Linked DNA regions of Homo sapiens: all the other regions are linked to region 3. The links are contacts of gene promoters, found by promoter capture Hi-C in blood cells and fetal thymus (Javierre and others, 2016). All regions are on one chromosome and are shown on one strand. The core of a region is centred on a gene start or on the middle of the fragment in contact, and the rest is flanking DNA. Distances in the headings are between cores, read along the strand shown.

Evidence for each region. The method cuts DNA at HindIII sites, captures the fragments that hold promoters and counts their contacts. A CHiCAGO score of 5 or more calls a contact.
Region 1: a fragment that was not itself captured here is called in contact with the fragment with the promoter of ITK in region 3 in 8 of 17 cell types (non-activated CD4 T cells, activated CD4 T cells, naive CD4 T cells and 5 more); the score reaches 13.1 in non-activated CD4 T cells.
Region 2: a contact is called between a fragment that was not itself captured here and the fragment with the promoter of ITK in region 3, in 2 of 17 cell types (activated CD4 T cells and non-activated CD4 T cells). The highest score is 7.2, in activated CD4 T cells.

What each region holds. Positions count from the first base shown.
Region 1 is chr5:157,334,958-157,339,840 of GRCh38, forward strand. It overlaps CYFIP2 (cytoplasmic FMR1 interacting protein 2), which reads left to right. Exons shown (of 31, transcript NM_001037333.3): 22 at 4,100-4,299. Among named protein-coding and RNA genes, the nearest start is that of FNDC9, 8.3 kb to the right of the region's middle. The HindIII fragment of the contact is 2,642 bases long and covers 1,142-3,783 here.
Region 2 is chr5:157,350,999-157,355,496 of GRCh38, forward strand. All of the region lies in intron 23 of CYFIP2 (cytoplasmic FMR1 interacting protein 2), which reads left to right. Among named protein-coding and RNA genes, the nearest start is that of FNDC9, 7.6 kb to the left of the region's middle. The HindIII fragment of the contact is 1,043 bases long and covers 2,213-3,255 here.
Region 3 is chr5:157,179,580-157,184,473 of GRCh38, forward strand. ITK (IL2 inducible T cell kinase) reads left to right here and starts at 1,261. Exons shown (of 17, transcript NM_005546.4): 1 at 1,261-1,536. The coding sequence starts at 1,399. The HindIII fragment of the contact is 39,229 bases long and covers 1-4,894 here.

The DNA of each region.
Region 1 (4,883 bases), core at 1,213-3,712, 160 kb after region 3:
GGGAAGCTGGGTAAAGGATATGCAGGGTATGCTGTTTTTACAACTTTTCTGTAAGTCTAACATTATTTTTAAATAAAGTTGGTTTTTATTTTAAGTGGACAAAGTATAAAAATAAAGTGACAGTGAACTGGGACTCTAACATCATACCTAGGGTCCCAGTCCTCTCCCTGCTACTTACTAGCTGTGTGATCTTGTGCAAGTTACTCAGCTTCTCCAAGCCTGTTTCCTTATCTATAGAAATGGAGGGAATATCAGAATCCACCTCTTAGGGTTACTATAAGGATAAAATGAGATACTACCTGTTTTTTTGTTTGTTTGTTTTTGTTTTGTTTTCTTTTGAGACGGAGTCTTGCTCTGTTGCCTAGGCTGTAGTGCAGTGGCGTGATCTCAGCTCACTGCAACCTCTGCCTCCAGGGTTCAAGCAATTCTCCTGCCTCAGCCTCCTGAGTAGCTGGGACTACAGGCATGTGCCACCAGGCCCACCTAATTTTTGTATTTTTAGTAGAGATGGGGTTTCACTATGTTGGCCAGGCTGGTCTCAAGCTCCTGACCTCGTGATCTGCCTGCCTTGGCCTCCCAAGAGTCTTTTGTATACATAGTTAGCACTTAATAAATAATAGCTTATGGAAAAAAGATGAGAGAAAAATAAATTTGGGGCTGCAATGCAGTGATTTTGGGTGATTTCTTAGGGCTTGACCTACCCACCCACCTAAGTCCTGGGTCACTTACTCCAGGAGACTGTAGTACAGCACACATTTTTCTGAGAAATCATTTGGTCACCTCTATTTTGAGAAACAGAGTTATTCTTTATGCCAAATGGTTAGCAGTGATTAGCTCCAAGTGGCGGGATTTTTTTTTCTTTTTTGTTTATCTGTATCTTCTAGTTTTCCAATAATGAGCATATCTTATGGGAAAAAAAAGATTTGGGATATGTGTGTCTCCATGGCCTCTTCCCACCTGTCCAAAAGCACTAAATGTTCTTTTAGCTGGGAACAAAATCAAAACAAGCAGTGAAAGCCCTTGCTTATCAGGCGAGGGCAGTGGCTCCCCAGAGAACACCAGTTCCTGGGAAGCCCATGAAGAGACCTCAGGGAAGCGCTCTCCGATGGGTCTGGATGGCCCCTGCTCGCCCTGGCTGAGAAGCTTCTACCTCCTCCAAGAAACAAAATGAGGAATGAGCTCCCCTCAGCCTTTCCCTCCACCTGAAAAACTCCATTCTGAGATGGGGAGGCAACTTGATTCTGAGTTGGGAGAGGTTGCAAAGATTTGGGGAGTTAGTCACCCTCATTTTACACAGCTGAGCAAACAGAGTCTCAGCAAGACCCGATGCTGAAGTTGAGAACGGGCAGCCCGCAGGCTGTGTTTTGTTTAGGCAGCATAGTACATTTGTAATTTTGAGCCAATGTTTAACATTTGGAAGAAATCAAATAAAACTGCAGAAGCTCTGGCAATGCCAGACCAGCATTCCCAGATGGTAACGATTGCCCATAAATGACTAGAAGTTCCTGTGAGATGGGCTACACTTTCTTCAGCTTGCCACAGCCTCAGTGGCAGGCTTCATTTATGTGTGTGACCTACGAGGCCTCACTGTACTGAGTTTGAGACCTTTGCTCTCTCACTTGCCTGAGGCCACAGAGCTGGTTGACAGTTGAATGTGGTTAACAATCAGGTCTTCTTTCGTTGATGAGCTCTTTCTCCCACTACTCTGAAGTTGCCCACTGGGGTGTTTTACTGCCCCAGTTCTGTTTCTCTGTGTTGCCCTTTAGTAAACCAGCCTTGCTGTGGAAAAGTGTCATCCTCTTAGGAGACCCCTAAACTGCCCACATGGCTTTTTAAGCCTTTTCCATGCTTTGGTGCGTTGAGCCCTGCATCCAGCTGGCACATGCCCTCTTCTGGTTTCAAGGCCAGAAGAACAAATCCGAAATGTGTTGCAGAAATATCGTCTGGGTTACATACTGTGCAGGGAGAAGTGGACCTGTGGTTGCAGCAGCCTCTGCCTCTCCTTCAGTTTCCCTTGTGAACACGGATGTATGTTGTGAGACTGCTGAAGTCACAGAACGATAACACAGAAATTGTTCCCCAGCTTCTCAGTTGTCTTCCCAGTAACAAGGCACCACAGTGTGCCAGGGGACTCAGTGATCTTAGAAATAAACTCAGCGCCACTTACTCCATGTATTTTTTATTTATTTAGTACCCATCCTAAGTGAATCAGAATAAAGACATATTCCAGCTAGCCAGGCCCCCAAGAGACAGAATCAGAAAGCTGATTCTGTATTTCCGCCCTTCATTTACTTCATGGTACACAATGACTGGAAACTTATTCCTCCGATGCTGTTCCAGAATTGAAATTCTGACCTTCTTTTGAAAAATTGCAGGATTTGCCATCACTAATCCCCCACTCCAACATGGCAGCGGTCAGACGGGGTATCAGAAGTAGCAGCTCCACCTTTACCTGGGCAGGGACATCCAATTTGCCATAGATGGACCCACTCCCCAAACTTTCTCTTCACCCCAGTTGATCTCACTTACCTGACCTGTCTGGTCTCTTTAGCCATGTGTGTTTGCAAGCCTTCAACCATTTCTGCACACTTCAACTTAGAGCCACAGAATCTGAGTTTCAGAGAGGCAGAGCTCCAAAAATTGGAAGCATAGCCTGGGATCTCCACCTGACCATGCTCTGGTCTCCATCTAGGGGTCTTTGTGGCTAATGAGAATGAAATTGAATCCTTGGCATGAGGCTGCCTCCTGTGGACATATTCCAGCCATTACAGCCGACCCTATGGTCATCCCACCCGGCCATGCTCTGATGAATTGGCCTTGCCGATGTTCTTTTAGCCTTTATGCTGTAAAGCCATCTTTGCCTTTCAAAGGACTTTCACAGCTCTTGCATCCTTGTTCCAGGGAACTGTGTCACAGGGACCAAGAACACATGATTTGGAATAAGGAGACTTGGATTCACATCCTAAGGCCTCTTATGGTGACCTTGGGCAAGTTACTTAACCTTCAGGGCCTCAATTTCCCCTCTCTGAATGAGGGACCATTGTACCGATCCTAAAAGATGGCTTAACCAAAACAGCACAGGAGTGGCCTAAGGTGCTTTCTGTCTCTACATAAGACTGTACTTTGATTCCTTTTGATAGCAGTGGCGGGGAAGTTGCAGGACAATGAGAGTCCAAAGCGTGTTGAAAGAGTTACACTCTTCTTTCATTTCCCAACAAATGCCATGTCCTGCTGTGTGCAGATACTCTGTCCCACTTTGCCTGAAGATGGGTTTCCTTCGTTCAGGGCCCACAGTGCACATAGATCCCGGTCATCATGAGCTGACTGCAGACTGCAGACTGCTTGCCCATGGCTTGTAGCCACGCCTTTGCCAACCCCATGTGATACCTCAAGGGGCCTACACTCCAAAGGATGAGGCATTCTGCTCCCACCTCTTTTTAAAACTTCTATAGCAGTTAGAGCATATAGTGGTTAAGAATGTGCACTTGGGAGCCCAGTTTCCTGGATTTGAAGTCAAGTTACTTAACTTCTCAAAGCCTCGGTTTCCATATGTATAAAATAAGAATGGCAGCAATACTGACCTCATAGGGTTTGATAAGCATTAAACAAGTTGACACATATAAAACTGGCACATACTAATTTGGTTGAACCAGGCAAAATTGCCAATATTTGGCCCTAAAAAACAAGTAACGTCATAGGGTTCAACCTAATAGTAAACCCTTAATTAGTGGTAGCTCTTAGTATTGCTTTTTTCTCACCAACATAGAAACTGGAAAGCAAGTAAGCTTGTTCTCTACCCAAAAGGGATTTGCACATGGTCTATGGTCTCCTTCCAGGGGGTAGGCGTGCAACCTCCCCTTCCCCTACCTTGCCCTTAACCTTCTGGGCCTCCATTTCTGTCAGCGTAGTCTGACAATCCTTCCACTTCTCAGAAGGGAACCTTGTCACCTGCTACTGTAAGGGTCCTAGTTCCCATGTAGATGGCCAGGAGGTTGTCTGAGCAGCTGTCACTTGCGTGAACAGAAGCAGTAAGATAAAACACACACATGTAATGCTTACAAGCAAGTCCTCAGCAGTTGTGGGCTCTCTCTCTGTACAGGAGCTGGAGTGGCTGCTGGAGATTAACCGGCTCACGCATCGGCTGCTCTGTAAGCATATGACGCTGGACAGCTTCGATGCCATGTTCCGAGAGGCCAATCACAATGTGTCCGCCCCCTATGGCCGTATCACCCTGCATGTCTTCTGGGAACTGAACTTTGACTTTCTCCCCAACTACTGCTACAATGGGTCCACTAACCGGTAAGGGAGTCCCTGTGCAGAGGGGGCCGGGTGGGGGTTGGGGGAGTGGCCAGCTGCCTCCTCCAAACTAGGCCCAGTACATGTGTGAGTGGTTCCTGCAACAGGTGTCTCTCAGAGCCCCTCCTGGGCACAGGCTTTGTGCTGTCTCACTTGCCTAAGGTCATAGAGCTGGTTGACAGTTGAATGTGGTTAACAATTAGGTCTTCTTTCATTGAAGAGCTCTTTCTACTGCTACTCTGAAGTTGCCCATTGGGGTGTTTTCCTGCTCCAGTAAAACATGGGGCATGCCATGGTGAGCAGATACCTTCCTGCCTCTTGAGTCTTCAGACTAGAGGAGGATGTGGGTGATCAATCACATGACAAATGTACCATTACAAACAGTGAATAAGGAGATGAAGGAAAGCCCACAGGGCCATGACAGTGGTAACAGTACCACCTATTCCAGTCCAAAAAGTCATGCAAACCTCAACGGAGGCTTCCTCTTTGAGGAAGTAATGCTGGAGTTAAGATGCAAAGGATGACTAGGAATAAATAAGGCAAAAAGGCAGGAGAAGAATATTCCAGACAAGTTTCTAAGGGTTTCT
Region 2 (4,498 bases), core at 1,484-3,983, 170 kb after region 3:
TGACAGTTTGATTTCCACTTTACTCACTTGGATGCCCTTTATTTCTTTCTCTTGTCTTACTGCTCTGGCTAGGACTTCCAGTACTATGTTGAATAGAAGTGGTTAAAGTGGGCACCCTTGTCTTGTTCCAGTTCTCGGGGGAAATTCCCCCACTTTAAAAATGAGAATATTATAATGCCTGTCTTGTAGTGTTATTTGTAACAGATGAACCCATGTCTGTAAAGTCCTGGGCTTACGAATAGTAGCTGTTATTATTAAGAAGAAAAGGTCAGTGGTTCAGAGCCATTTCCTGAGTTGGTCATAGCTTCATCCAGAGGCTATAATGAGCAAAGTTTACACCCTGAATTGCATAGCACTTCCTTGCTTTTCCTCTCTTAAATCACTTTTATTGGTTTTATTTTTTAATGTATATGCTCATTGTACATAAATAATATTGAAAAGTTCAAAGATGACAGTAAAACTCATACAACTCAGAAACTTGGGAACTTTTTCTGCATTTAACATGTGTGTTCTCGTTTTACAAACCACATGACAACTCCTTGAGATCGGCCTTCTTATCACCATTGTACAACGGGAGAGACTGAAGCTCAGCGGGGCCGGCTTGGCTGCTCTCACAAAGCAAGGTCCTGGCAAACAATGGTGTAAGCCTGGGCCTGTTGGCCACTAGAGCTGGAGATCCTGGCTGGCCTCTTTGATGCTCTGCTGCTCTGCTTGTACCATCCTGTAACCTGTGATTCTTCAGTCCATAGTAGCCCTTTGCTTTGTGATTAGCTTCCCTTGAGAGGTAGGGCCAGGACTTCATAGTATGGTGGACTCCAGAATGCTGGAGCAGGTGAAGAACTAAAAGCTCTTACAGAGAACATCTAACCACCTGATGTGGTAGCGTCAGGGAAGACATCAACTCATTTGGAGAAATATGACCAGCAAGTGTTTCCTCTTCTGAACAGGCCCTACTCTGGAGTCTAAGTTCTTCTGTGCAAGAGCTCTGTCACTTAGAGATGATGCTCAATAAAACAAAACTTTAACAACTGGTCAAGTAATCAAAATTAATATATGAATCAAAACTTTAAGAATATATTCTCTAAATAAAGTAAATTATATAGAGTCTATCCTAAAACTGCCTTCCAAGTGACATAGATTGCGGCATAAAGCATTCATTCAATTATTCCAATAACTTCCTGGTAATTTTTTGGCCCTTAGAAATTGTTGGTGTGATCTGTTTGGCCTGGTTGTCACAAGCCCCCATCTGAGGCACAGTTTGACCTCAGGCAAATGCATCATACCGTCATACTACCACAGTGCCTCCCTTGTTAAATCATATCCTTAGGACCCAGAACCCAGTGCTTTGCTGCAGCAAGCTGGGCACAGCTCAGCTGGGTACACACCTGGATGCCAACACTGCCCGCCTGGGCTGACCAGGGGAATCTTGGTCCCTGTGACACCACCACCAACAGCACCTCCCACTTCCCTGCCACCACCCCACCCTTCTGTCTGCATGGTACCACTTCTACAAGGTAGTTTACCCACCAGTCCAGAAGGCTTTTGTGATTTTGGCAACCAATACATATGGAATTTCCTATGCAGAATTTCATCTTGTATCTCACCCCAGACAAGTCACTTCATTACACTTGGGATTCAGATTCCACTTCTGCTAAATGGGGATACTTGCACTGCCTTACCTGGTTTAGAAGGCTGAGAATGTTTCCCAAAGACATCAGGTCCTAATCCTGGAACCTGTCAATGTAACTTTCTTTGGAAAGAGGTCTTTGGAGATGTGATTAACTGGAGGACCTTGAGATGGGAAGATAATCCTGGATTATCTTGGGTTATGCTGGGTCCTACATGCTATCGTAAGTGTCATAAGGGAGAAGCAGAGGGAGCTTACACATGTAAGAGGAGAAGGCCATACGAAGACCCAGCAGAGAGATGGGAAGATTGGAGTGGTGCAGCTGCAAGCCCGGGATTGCCGCCAGCCTCCAGTAGCTGAAGAGACGGGAAACAGATCGTCCCCTGCAGTTTCTGGAGGGAATGTGGCCCTGCCGACACCTTGATTTTGGCCTAGTGATACCAGTTTGGATTTCTGGCTTCCAGAAGCCTGAGAGAATACATTGCTGTTGTTCGAAGCCACCAAATTTGTGGTAATTGTTAGAGCAGCCACAGAAAACAATGTGGGCGGCTGTGACGGAATTCGTATGTGAAAAATTCACAGAGAAGCTTGATATACTTGTGTGTCATCACATGAGTACTGATTATCAAGAAAAGTGATGACATTGGTTCCCTTCAAAAGTTTTAGCATCTCTGAGTGTGACAGTGTTGATGTGATCTCTCAGCTGGAAGGCTCGGCTCCTGTTCCCCTGCTTGCCTTTTCCAACGCACCTTATTCATAGCCCAGGAGAGAAAGGAGCGTCATTTCTTGAGATCTGCATAGCAGCTCTTTGGATCTTTCAGCCTCTGAGCTGAGAAGGCCAAGAAGGAACCCAGATGTTGGAGACCCAGCCCTATGGCCCCCCAAATGTCAAGAACAGACAGACAGACACATAGACACATTAGTAGTTTTACCCAAGCGTTTACAATGGATTTGATCCTGGAACTGAGAATTGATCAGTCCTTGGCACTGTCTTGCTCTGTGATCTTCCCGACAAGGACGATGCTGCTGTTTTATTTTTGCCGTCGCCTTTATTTACCTGCAGTGATTTTAGGGAATTGAGCTGCAGCCATTCCACCTAAATTAGAGAGCTGTGTTTGTGTTTGCGGGCTGATGATATCCATTAGAGAAATTGTAACAAAAATAGGAAATTAGGAACAGTTTAATTCCTCTTGGGATCTCTGAAAACAGCAATTGTGATTCCAGAGAGCAGAGATGCAAATTGCTTACAAATTCAGTTTACCAAGTAAATAGGCCTTACTGTTTGAAGTGGCTGGCCGTGTTTACCATCTGATGAGATAGAGGCCTATCTCAACGGATAGATGAAAAGTCTGTATACAACATTTAAACATGGCTAAAATGGTGAATTTTATTTGTATATTTTGCCACAACATTTTAAAGTTCATCTACAGATAATATTACAGTGCCCAGGATCTGCCAGATTAAACTCACCATATTTTTTTCTCTCCTTAAAAATGCTTTTTTGCTTTTTTTAAGAAAATGCAGGTCTGCGTCACACAGTAATAACATGGCTCTAATTCCTGAATCAGGGTTGTTTATTTCTTGAGATCTCATAAAGCTATCTATTTTGTGTAGTGTGGATTTAAATAAGCTTAATTTTAAGTGAGCCATCCTAACCAGGCAGGATACATAATTAGTTTCCTATGAGGCCCATTGATTGGAACCTATCAGTTAGCAGAATTGGTTCAATGGCAAGTTTCCAATGGCTCATGTCATGTTGCATTCTTGTTTTTCTTTGCCAACCCTCAGAAAATGCCCAGGCTCCCCTATTCCCACATTTTCTCAATAGGGCCCAGCCTCCTATTGAGCCAGCAGGTCAGATGGGTGCCCTTCGGGGATGAGTGTGTGTGTACTTTTCAGCATGCGTGTGCATTTCTTCTTGCATGCGTGGGGTATATTTGGGGGAATGAGGGGTCGGGGGGGATTTTTTTTAATCTTAGGAGGAGGATTTGAATTCTCCTCATTTCATGCTGGTCCTTCTCACATGAAATGCATCTTGGACCATCAACTGAAGCCTAAACTCCCAGTCTAGACCAGAATCCAAGACTGACATAGGAATGTCAATCAGGGGCCTCCAAAGTGAACCGAGTGGGTGTGTAGGGGGCATTTTAAAAATCCTTACGTGGTAAAACAGTTCCAATACTATTCTCCGCCTCTGCCTAGATCTGGGAATTCCTGCTGAACAGTTTCCATATATGTAAATGTGTATTTATTTGTGCTTGCCAGGAAGTGTTCAGGGAAGCTTGGTACTAGAAGCTCCTTGGGTGGCGGTGAGGGTTTAGGACACCACTCAGAAGGATGAGCGTCCAGGAAGAATGCGTTTCAGCTTGATCCTCTAGAGGGAGCACGTCTATCCCCACTTCCAGCCCTTGATGGGACCCCTTATAACAACCCTGTTGTTATAAGATACCTGCAGTGAGGAGGAACTCCACCCAGTACAATCTGTTACTGAACATCTCCCATTTTTATGATGTTCTTAATGTTGAATAAAATGCATTTTTTGGTGCATTCTATCAACTAGTCCTGGCTCTCACCTCTGTCCTATCACTTTGTGGGGTACATGCTGTGTTGCATAAAATTACCCCCCACATATGCACTCCCCTGTTTACAATCAGAGAATCGTAGCTGTCGCCAAAGCTGCTGGGGGAAATTCGACCAGAAAGCTGTGTTTTTGTCTTTATTTACCAAGTCATCAAACAAAATAATATTAATGGCTATTTTTTCAGTGAGCGTTTCCAGTGTGCCAGGCACCATGCTGACTGCTTTATATATGTGATCACATTTAAACCTCAAACAACCCTATTGGATTTGGTATTATCATCTCTACTTAGG
Region 3 (4,894 bases), core at 11-2,510:
TTGACCAGAAGACAGTCATACAACTACACCTAGCTACAAGGGAGGCTAAAATTTGTAGTCTTTATTCTTGCTGGCCAGATGCCCAGATAACTGTCAGGGATTCTGTTACTCTAGTAAGAAGGAGAGAGTAGCTATTTGGGAATAGTAGCAATCCCTACCTCAAGCCCATACTCAGAAAAAAAAAATACTATCTTGTTTGGGCAGTGTATTTCCACACATATGTCTTAAGAATCTCAGAATGGGGGAGGTAATTTAAAATATACCAGTACCGTACCCTCCTGGGTGTCTTGATTATGCTGGGGCATCCAGTATATGAAATAAAATTAGGCTGTTGTCTGGTAATTTACATTTAAAAATAAACATTGGAGAATTTCACTCCTATACAGCAATAATTATTATTTCATTTATTATTTATCCCTACCCACTACATGCAATATCTGCTTACACTAAAATCTCTTGATTATTAACATAGTAGAGGTAACTGTCACACATTATACTTCAACTATGTACTAACTCTAAGGTGACATGTATGACTAGCACCTACCATTCATAAGATGTATGGGATTCAGTCCTCCAAAGGACCCTCACAAGGAAGCTAAGGATCAGAGAAGTCATGGCTTGCTCAAAGAGAAACAGCATAGTAAGTGACAGAGCTGGGAATCCAACACAAGTTTGTCTGTTTTCAAAGCCCACATATACTTTGTTTATTATGCCATTCTGAAGGATTCACTTATTTTTCACTCTTCCACAAAACGTCAGGACAGAAAGGCAGTCATCTATATGTAGCATTGAGAAATTTCTATGGGCTTTAATTTAAATCTTAAAAACTAATAAACTTCAGCAACATATTTCTTCACTTTAATGTGTGAGGGTTTTGTGCTCATTACCTCTTTTAATTGTCCAACCCAATTTGGTGATGATCCATTCAACAAATTTTTCTTGAACATCTGTTTTATGTGTCAGGTACTGTGATGGTTGCTGAGTATATCATGGTAAGCAAAACCACACATTGTCCTTACTCCTTGTGCTACATGATTTAACTGCTGGATGGATTAAACCAGGAACTATAAAGATTAAACTGTAATCCTTACCACAATTTTGAGTTTACAGTTTTTCAAATATCATTTCAAGCCATTAGCAAAGGCTGTATGTATTTTTTACATATGCCTCCTCGTTTTGTGAATTTTGAAAGGATGTGGTTTCGGCCTTTGACATCAGAGGAGAAGCTCAGCTATGTTGGCTGAACGTTGATAGAAAGATAACGTTGAAGGCAAGTTGCCCTTGAGCAGCTCTCTGAAGATCAACTGCCTCCACATTGCATTCTTTGCCCCAAAACTCTTTCCTTTGGTTGTGCTAAGAGGTGATGCCCAAGGTGCACCACCTTTCAAGAACTGGATCATGAACAACTTTATCCTCCTGGAAGAACAGCTCATCAAGAAATCCCAACAAAAGAGAAGAACTTCTCCCTCGAACTTTAAAGTCCGCTTCTTTGTGTTAACCAAAGCCAGCCTGGCATACTTTGAAGATCGTCATGGGGTATGTGAGCAGTTTCATTTGTCTTTTTTCGCATAGCATTTTATGTTTGGACTGGGCTAATGCAAAAATATATACATAGCATAAAATAGAGCACAGGAAACACAAACATGCTTATTGTAACAACATAAAAAGTACAGTAAAAGTAATCAGAGGAGAATGCAGAGAGCAGTCAAGAGGTGAAATGGTGGTGCTAGGTGATTTCAGTTCTAAAAACTGTAAATTTAACATTCATCAGCTTTTTCCCCCTGCAAGGTTATGTTTGGTTTTTAAATTATGAATAACATTTTAGGTAGCAAGTATTATGATTCGATAAAACTTGAACTTTCTATGAAACATACTAAATTTAATGAAACATACTAAATTTAATGAAACATAGATTAATACAACACTAGCATTCAATGGGATGATCTACCCCAGCTTTCTTATTTTTTAGTGGAAGAAACTGGTGTTTAGAATGGTTAAGTTTTGGGTTCAGTGTTAACGTTTTCATGAATAACTCTGTTTGTCTCAATACTCGTCGCTAGCCTGATCTTGAAATAAGATTTCCCAGGCATTTAATTATCTAAAAGTTGTAAGGCACAATGGCAAACCTCTTCATCTCTTGATAGACTTCTTAGGACACCAGGGTTATTAAGAACAAAGTTTCTGCAGTGCAGACCAGCGGTTCTTACCCAGAAGGAGTATGGCTGCTTTGCTAGGTCAGTCTATCTCTTTATCTAAAAATAGTCTTGTGCTTCTTAACATCACTAATAACAAAAGCAACAGGAATAATCCTAATAATGTAGTTTGGTAGAAAAAGCATTGGACAAAGGGTCAGGAGACCAAACTCTACTTCTCAGTAGGTGATCCAGTCTGGGCAAATGTCTACCTCCTGTTTCAGGTTCTTTCTTCATAAAATGAAAAAACTGGAAATAACAACCTTCAAGATCCCTTTCTTCTTCAAAACTTCTTTGCTTTATGCAGTGGCTCTTGTTTAGCCCTATGCTGCAATTTTTCAAAGCATGTTTGATTTCTTACTGTATGGTTATATTATTTTTACATCATTAGTGGGGTAGGACAAGGATTATCACTTATATTTTACTGAAGGGAAAATAATATTAGGTGCCTGATGGTCACTTAGAAACAAAAGTGCTCCAGTTCTTTGTTGGAGTCTGACTTAGTAGGTGGTGGCATGAGTTTGGGATTCTTTGGTGTGCCAGGGTTTAAAGCACTTCATGAGATGGAGCTCCAGAGGAGGTCAGGCTGGGTATAGAGCCTATGGATGCCTCACTTTTTAAAGTTGCAGGTGTTGCATGTCTTTTGTGAATTAAAAAAATACAGAAAACAAAAAAGTTGCAGGCGAAATAGCTCTGCCTCTTTAGAAGTGAAAAGAATTGCTTGTCTTATTATCAGACTCTTACTGATAACAATTTACCAGTCAATCAGAAAACACATGGAATTACGTGCAAGTCCTCTTTGCTAGGTGGCCAGGAGCCCAGTTTGTGAACTTGGGGGATTTATCATGTAGAGCTAATAAATCGCATGGCATTACTCAATGCTTTTTTGTGAATGGAACATTTAAAGTTTTTGTTTCATATTGAAAGAACAGTCATGTACCTTTAAATATTTTTTTCAAAGTCCATTTTGCAGTTTTCACCAGTTCGTTTTTCTGATTCAACATAGTATCATCTCATTTAGTTAGTATTAATAATTCCTTAGCCCAACTGCTATTTGTGAACTGATTGTGAATTCAGCTCAATATTATTTGTAAGTAATCACAAAACCAGATGGCCTTAATTCAGAATATTATTGGTCATAATTTGCATGTAGACAAGGTTGTAAAATCACCCTACTTCTTTATCTGAGCATTATGGAAAATTTCAAGACAATTACTTCATTCTGGGGAGCCCTAGGCTACAGTTTCTAATTCTTCCATGTGAGATATAGAGAATACATGTCCAAACATCAAATTTCTTGTTTTCTAATGCCTTTTTTACTCTTATAAATAACATTTTAAAAGTATTTCTTTAATTATTTAATTATTATAGAAGTTTATTAATTAGAAATTTATCCAAGTTCCCTGAAAAAGGTAATATATGTGAATTATTATTGTTCATGTCTTAGGTATACTACATGGTTTCAGGCCACCAATTTGCACACAAGGCTGCATTAATATTACTCATAAGTAAATAACATTACACTTATGGGAAGAACATTTTCATTTTTAAATTAAAGGCTTCATTTTCAATCTGTAAAATGGGTGTGATAATAGTACCCATTTCATAGGAAGATGGCAAAGACTCAGAGGTATAATGTCTTTAGGCTGAACTTTTTGAAATTATTTGGCAGATCGAATATCAGATATTAGAAGTTTCAAACAATTCAACTTAATATATTAGGTACTTAGCATAGGCCCTGTCATCTGGTAAGCATCTAGTAAAAATTAACCATTATTTGTATCCCTTTCATGTCTCTACAGAAGCTAGCAGGCTGTCATAACAATTCATTTTCAAATTATGGGAGATATTCAAGGATTCTTCAAAGTCAAGCTAAGATCAGGGTCCTGGATTCCTTCTATTCTGTGGCTAAATATAAGTTTTGTGGGGTAGATATACATGCATTATGAGCTGTTTGGCCAGTTATTGCCCCTCTTAGGGTGTCGGGTGTCAGAGCTTCTTTTTCTCTTTTCTCATGTGTAAAATTATGATTCTTGCAGTTCTCATATTCTATGAATTTATAACACCATATGAAAAATAACCCTTCTACATACTCAAGAACATATTCTGTAATTCTAGAAATCAAGTATGTTTATTCTAACCTAAAAAATCATGCCTATTGTCATTATAATACTAATTGATTGAGGTTTTACTTTAACATGGTTTTAGTTCTGGTGTTCGATGCCTGTTTTTCCTGTTGAGATGTGCAAGTGTTTTCAGAGGGGCCAAGAAGCGCCTTCATCTTGCTGGAGCAGTGGGCCAGAAAGAAGCATAGATTTGGCAGGTGGTAGCTTGCAGACAGACATGATTTCAGAGGCTCTCCTGTGCCTGTCAATTTTTTTCCAAGTTGTCCCTGATGCCTGAAATTCTATGACAGAGGACAATGAGAGATAAGGGCACATGGATGTCCTGGTAAATGCTTAGGAATCCGAGTACAGGGCTTGTTGGAGAGCCCTGATTCATAGTGTTTGCCAATTCCTTTGGTGTAAATATTCCCATCATGGCCCATTTTAAACTACCAATGTGATGTCTGCTGGCTCACAGATTCCTGAAAACTTAACAATTAGCTACCTCGGGCCAGTACAAGCCGAGTCCAGCACACCGTCGGCAAGCCTAAGTACAAATGATCCTTGGAGAGGTAGCCACCAACTAAACAGCATACT